Linked DNA regions of Homo sapiens: region 1 is linked to region 2. Evidence: promoter capture Hi-C in human tissues and cell types (Jung and others, 2019). All regions are on one chromosome and are shown on one strand. The core of a region is centred on a gene start or on the middle of the fragment in contact, and the rest is flanking DNA. Distances in the headings are between cores, read along the strand shown.

Region 1 (3,004 bases), core at 448-2,947, 130 kb before region 2:
GTTTCTGACTTATTTTTCCTGTCTCTGTCTTCCAACCCCCAATAATATTTCCACCGGGGATGCATCATTTTTACTCCCAATATTCTGTAGAGAGGGAGTCAGGATGCTGTCTTCCCACGAATAGTACTCAGTAACAAACCAATTGCATTTTAGTTGGGCAGTGCTCCCACCCACCCTCCAGATCCCTTCCAGCTAAAACCCTTCCCCCTTCCCTCCATGTGTTTCTCAGTTTCCCGTTTCGTTTGTTGGACTGTTCCACTGCCCCTCCTCCTCACCCTATCACCCATGGATCGTAATGTAAAATTCTTTTACCATGTCAAGAAATTATTAAAAATACAGGTACTTTGACCTCTTTCTAAAGCCGCAGACCCTGGTGCAATGCTCTGGTGGCTAGGGATGTACTCATGCTCATATGTGTGCACGCTTGGACACCCACCTCCATGGACACCTAGCCACCCTGTTGTGTGTCCTTATGCCAGTTGAGCTGAATCTTTTCCCCAGTATAGTGGAAAGACTGAGGCTTCTGCCTACTGAGCAAGGTTGGGTGCTTCATTTGTGTTCAGTCTGAATTATGGGAAAGTTAGCTCTTCCCAGACCTAAGCTGCCTTCTCTCCCTACTTTCAGAAGATCCTAGTTCCTTCCTTCCCGAGTGATACCCATGAACTGCCAGTAGAGGCTGCTATCGTTCCATGTGTAAGGAATGAACTGGTTCAAGGCGCGTCCTACCCAGTCATTTTCTTTACCTTATACTAATTCTTCCTGAATAATGTCTTCAGTTTCTTGAGGAGACTCCTAGTTTTGGTTTTCAAATTACTTGGAGGGCTGCCTAGGAATCTATCTCCCTCTGAAATAAAGTTTCCTCATCTTCCACCTTGCAAGTAGCCTTCTGGTTTCCAATGATCCCCTCGTTGTCTCTGTAAAAAGAGTTTAAGGTCTTGAACAATGGAGGAGCAGCTGCTCTGTTCTGTTTCAGAGATGACTACCAAAAGCTAGCGGTTTGTGAGTGCCTCCCCTGTGCCAGGCTGTTAAGTACCTAATGTGCATGATCACATTTAATCTTCAGGAATCTATAGGATAGTTGTATCTATTTGTTACAGATGAGGACACTGAGACTCAGGATAAGTATTTCCGCTAAGGTTACACAGCTGAGGGAACTGGGATTGGTGGACAAACCTGATTACTAAGCCCAGGCCCTCAGCCACTCCACTGGTTGGAAATGGCCTGACTACAAATCAAGGGCTTGGCATTAGGCAACAAGTAGAATTCAGTGCTTACTGCTGAACATGGCAGTGAATCCTGGAGCTGTTGGGATGCAGTTCCTGCCAGGAGGTAGGAAAATGGACAGCTTAGTGCTTGCATGCAGGCTGCAGAACTTAATTGGGCATCTGAGGTTTGTACTCTTCCTGAGACCCATTCCAGGTGGAAACTGGAGGTTAGCATCGTTAACCCAGATTCCCTTTCATCTGGTCTAAATGATGGAAATCAGTAGTTGGTACTGACTGCTACCAGTGGGAGTTCAGGGGCAAGGAAGAGGCTATGCATGTGGAAGCAGTGCCCTGGGCCAAACCACAGGACAGAAAATTGGAACAGAATTACATAAATCAAGGTCAGAAATTTCCTGCCCAACCCATGGGGTGGAGTTTTCTCCCTTCCTATCCATCCTAGCGAATATAAACCCCGACTTGATGTCAGTAACTGGAAGGAGCAGCTGTTAGAATTCTGATTTCAGCTCTCAGCATCCACCATGCATCTCAAGATAGTCCTGGCGTTCCTGGCACTGTCCCTCATTACCATCTTTGCCCTGGCCTATGTTTTGCTGACCAGCCCAGGTGGTTCCAGCCAGCCTCCCCACTGCCCCTCTGTATCCCATAGGGCCCAGCCCTGGCCACACCCTGGCCAGAGCCAGCTGTTTGCAGACCTGAGCCGAGAGGAGTTGACAGCTGTGATGCGCTTTCTGACCCAGCGGCTGGGGCCAGGGCTGGTGGACGCAGCCCAGGCTCAGCCCTCGGACAACTGCATCTTCTCAGTGGAGCTGCAGCTGCCCCCCAAGGCTGCAGCCCTGGCCCACCTGGACAGGGGGAGCCCCCCACCTGCCCGGGAGGCACTGGCCATCGTCCTCTTTGGTGGACAACCCCAACCCAATGTGAGTGAGCTGGTGGTGGGGCCGCTGCCTCACCCCTCGTACATGCGGGATGTGACTGTGGAGCGTCACGGCGGGCCCCTGCCCTATCACCGTCGCCCGGTGCTGAGAGCTGAGTTTACACAGATGTGGAGGCATCTGAAAGAGGTGGAGCTACCCAAGGCACCCATCTTCCTGTCGTCCACCTTCAACTACAATGGCTCTACCCTGGCAGCTGTGCATGCCACCCCTCGGGGCTTGCGCTCAGGGGACCGAGCTACCTGGATGGCCCTCTACCATAACATCTCAGGGGTTGGTCTTTTCCTTCACCCCGTGGGGCTGGAGCTACTACTGGACCACAGGGCCCTGGACCCTGCCCACTGGACTGTCCAGCAGGTCTTCTACCTTGGGCACTACTATGCAGACTTGGGCCAGTTGGAACGGGAGTTTAAGTCTGGCCGGTTGGAAGTGGTTAGAGTCCCTCTACCTCCACCAAATGGAGCTTCATCCCTGAGGTCTCGGAACTCTCCAGGTCCTCTTCCCCCTCTTCAGTTCTCGCCCCAGGGTTCCCAGTACAGTGTGCAAGGAAACCTGGTGGTATCCTCCCTCTGGTCATTTACCTTTGGCCATGGGGTGTTCAGCGGCCTGAGGATTTTTGATGTTCGGTTCCAGGGTGAGCGAATAGCCTATGAAGTCAGTGTCCAGGAGTGTGTATCTATCTATGGTGCCGATTCACCCAAGACGATGCTGACTCGCTATTTGGATAGCAGCTTTGGACTCGGCCGTAACAGCCGAGGCTTGGTGCGGGGAGTGGACTGCCCCTATCAAGCCACGATGGTGGACATCCATATATTAGTGGGCAAAGGGGCAGTCCAGCTGCTTCCA
Region 2 (3,082 bases), core at 50-2,549:
AGGAGTGTCTCTGCCTGGCCGCCCATCGTCTGGGATGTGAGGAGCCCCTCTGCCTGGCTGCCCAGTCTGGAAAGTGAGGAGCGTCTCCGCCCGGCCGCCATCCCATCTAGGAAGTGAGGAGCGCCTCTTCCCGGCCGCCATCACATCTAGGAAGTGATGAGCGTCTCTGCCCGGCCACCCATCGTCTGAGATGTGGGGAGCACCTCTGCCCCGCTGCCCCATCTGGGATGTGAGGAGCGCCTCTGCCCGGCCGCGACCCCGTCTGGGAGGTGAGGAGCGTCTCTGCCCGGCCGCCCCGTCTGAGAAGTGAGGAGACCCTCTGCCTGGCAACCACCCCGTCTGAGAAGTGAGGAGCCTCTCCGCCCGGCAGCCACCCCATCTGGGAAGTGAGGAGCGTCTCTGCCCAGCAGCCACCCCATCCGGGAGGGAGGTGGGGGGGGGTCAGCCCCCCGCCCGGCCAGCCGCCCCGTCCGGGAGGGAGGTGGGGGGGTCAGCCCCCCGCCCGGCCAGCCGCCCCGTCCGGGAGGTGAGGGGCGCCTCTGCCCGGCGGCCCCTACTGGGAAGTGAAGAGCCCCTCCGCCCGGCCAGCCGCCCCGTCCGGGAGGGAAGTGGGGGGGGTCAGCCCCCTGCCCGGCCAGCCGCCCCGTCCGGGAGGTGAGGGGCGCCTCTGCCCGGCCGCCCCTACTGGGAAGTGAGGAGCCCCTCTGCCTGGCCACCACCCCGTCTGGGAGGTGTGCCCAACAGCTCACTGAGAACGGGCCAGGATGACAATGGCGGCTTTGTGGAATAGAAAGGCGGAAAAGGTGGGGAAAAGATTGAGAAATCGGATGGTTGCCGTGTCTGTGTAGAAAGAAGTAGACATGGGAGACTTTTCATTTTGTTCTGCACTAAGAAAAATTCTTCTGCCTTGGGATCCTGTTGATCTGTGACCTTACCCCCAACCCTGTGCTCTCTGAAACATGTGCTGTGTCCACTCAGGGTTAAATGGGTTAAGGGCGGTGCAAGATGTGCTTTGTTAAACAGATGCTTGAAGGCAGCATGCTCGTTAAGAGTCATCACCACTCCCTAATCTCAAGTAATCAGGGACACAAACACTGCGGAAGGCCGCAGGGTCCTCTGCCTAGGAAAACCAGAGACCTTTGTTCACTTGTTTATCTGCTGACCTTCCCTCCACTATTGTCCCATGACCCTGCCAAATCCCCCTCTGTGAGAAACACCCAAGAATTATCAATAAAAAAATAAATTAAAAAAAAATAAAAATAAAAATAAAAAAAAATAAAGCAACATAGGAGTCAACCAATAAGACAGACAAGCTGCAGCCAGGCGCAGTGGCTCACACAACCTGTAATCCCAGCACTCTGCGGGGCCAGGGTGGGTGGATCACCTGAGGTCAGGAGTTCGAGACCAGCCTGGCCAACATGGTAAAACCCCATCTCTACTAAAAATACAAAATTAGCTGGGCATGGTGGCACATGCTTCTAGTCCCAGCTACTTGGGAGGCTGAGGCAGGAAAATTGCTTGAACCTGGCAGGTGGAAGCTGCAGTAAGCTGAGATCGCGCCACTGCACCCCAGCCTGGGCAACAAGAGTGGAACTCTGTCTCGAAAAAAAAAAAAAAAAAGACAAGCTGCATTCCATGGAGTCAGAGACAGCCCTTCAAGGTCCATGTTCCAAAGTTTCCACATTTATACAGGGAAGAAGTTATTCACTCCTTCATTCAAAAGATATTTATTGGCCAGGTGCAGTGGCTAACATCTGTAATCCCAGCATTTTGGGAGGCTGAGGCAGGTGGATCACTTGACGTCAGGAGTTTGAGACCAGCCTGGCCAACATGGTGAAACCCCATCTCTACTAAAAATACAGAAATTAGCTGGGAATGCTGGTGGGCACTTGTAATCCCATCTACTCAGGAGACTAACGCAGGAGGATTACTGGAACCCGGAAGGTGGAGGTTGCAGTGAGTCGAGATCACGCCACTGTACTCCAACCTGGGCGATGGAGTGAGACTCTGTCTCAAAAAAAAAAAAAAAAAAATTTATTGAACACATACTATGGACAGACTCTCAGCTTGGCACTGGGTTTATAAAAATGTTCTGGCCGGGCGCAGTGGCTATCACTTATAATCACAGCACTTTGGGAGGCCAAGGCACATCAATTGCTTGAGCCCAGGGGTTCGAGACCAGCCTAGGGCAACATGGCAAAACCCCATCTCTACAAAAAATACAAAAATTAGCCAGGCATGGTGGCACACTTCTGTTGTTCCACCTACTCAAGAGGCTAAGGTGAGAGGATTGCTTGAGCCCAGAAGGGCAACGCTGCTGTGAACCTTGATTATGCCACTGTACTCCAGCCTGAGTAACAGTACGACATCCTGTCTCAAAAAAAAAAAAAAAAAAAAAGGTCAACACACTGTCCCAGCCACTTGGAAGCAAGCTGGGGAGGGAGATATAAATAAAGCACTATAATACAGTGTGAAAAGTGTGGTGGTGGAGTTATATAGGGGACATCATGGGAACCCCAAAAGGAGTCACAAGAACCCAGGTTTCTGGAGTGGCAGGGCTTTGAAGGATGCACAGGGATTGGGTGGGTGAAGGTAGTAATGATGGTAACTTTTCAGGAAGAAGGCATACCTTGAGCAAAGGTACAGAGGTGAGAAACAGCCTGGTTTTTGCAAAACAAACAAAACACAACAGTCTGCTGTGGCTAGAAGATAAAGCTTGGGGCAGAGAGTGTGGGATGTGCTAGTGTGTTATGTAACGGATCTCAACCTAAAGGGCAGGAAATCAAACGCTCAAATACCCAAGAGAGTCAGGGAGGTAATGAAAAGGAGCAAGTGAGGTGAAGTACATGATCCACTGAAAACTTCAACTCTAGGCATCTGGGGATGTGTATCAGTGGGGCTAGATTCTCTCATTTTTCTTTTTCTTTTTTCTTTCTGAGACAGAGTCTCACTCTGTCATCCAGGCTAGAGTGCAGTGGGGTGATCTCGGCTGACTGCAACCTCTGCCTCCCGGGTTCAAGCAATTCTCCTGCCTCAGCCTCCGGAGCAGCTGGGATTACAGGCACGTGCTACCGCGCTCTGC

What was found. The method cuts DNA at HindIII sites, captures the fragments that hold promoters and counts their contacts. A contact is called where the count stands out against the background at its distance.
Region 1: the fragment with the promoter of AOC2 here is called in contact with a fragment that was not itself captured in region 2 in 3 of the 25 tissues and cell types used here (IMR-90 fibroblasts, lymphoblastoid cells and mesenchymal stem cells).

What each region holds. Positions count from the first base shown.
Region 1 is chr17:42,842,883-42,845,886 of GRCh38, forward strand. It overlaps AOC2 (amine oxidase copper containing 2), which reads left to right and starts at 1,698. Exons shown (of 4, transcript NM_009590.4): 1 at 1,698-3,004. The coding sequence starts at 1,745. PSME3 (proteasome activator subunit 3) reads left to right here. Exons shown (of 11, transcript NM_005789.4): 11 at 1-878. The HindIII fragment of the contact is 18,620 bases long and covers 1-3,004 here.
Region 2 is chr17:42,972,759-42,975,840 of GRCh38, forward strand. All of the region lies in intron 4 of PTGES3L-AARSD1 (PTGES3L-AARSD1 readthrough), which reads right to left. The region is part of intron 4 of PTGES3L (prostaglandin E synthase 3 like); the gene reads right to left. Among named protein-coding and RNA genes, the nearest start is that of PTGES3L, 5.8 kb to the right of the region's middle. RefSeq lists an enhancer at 1-437. The HindIII fragment of the contact is 3,653 bases long and covers 1-3,082 here.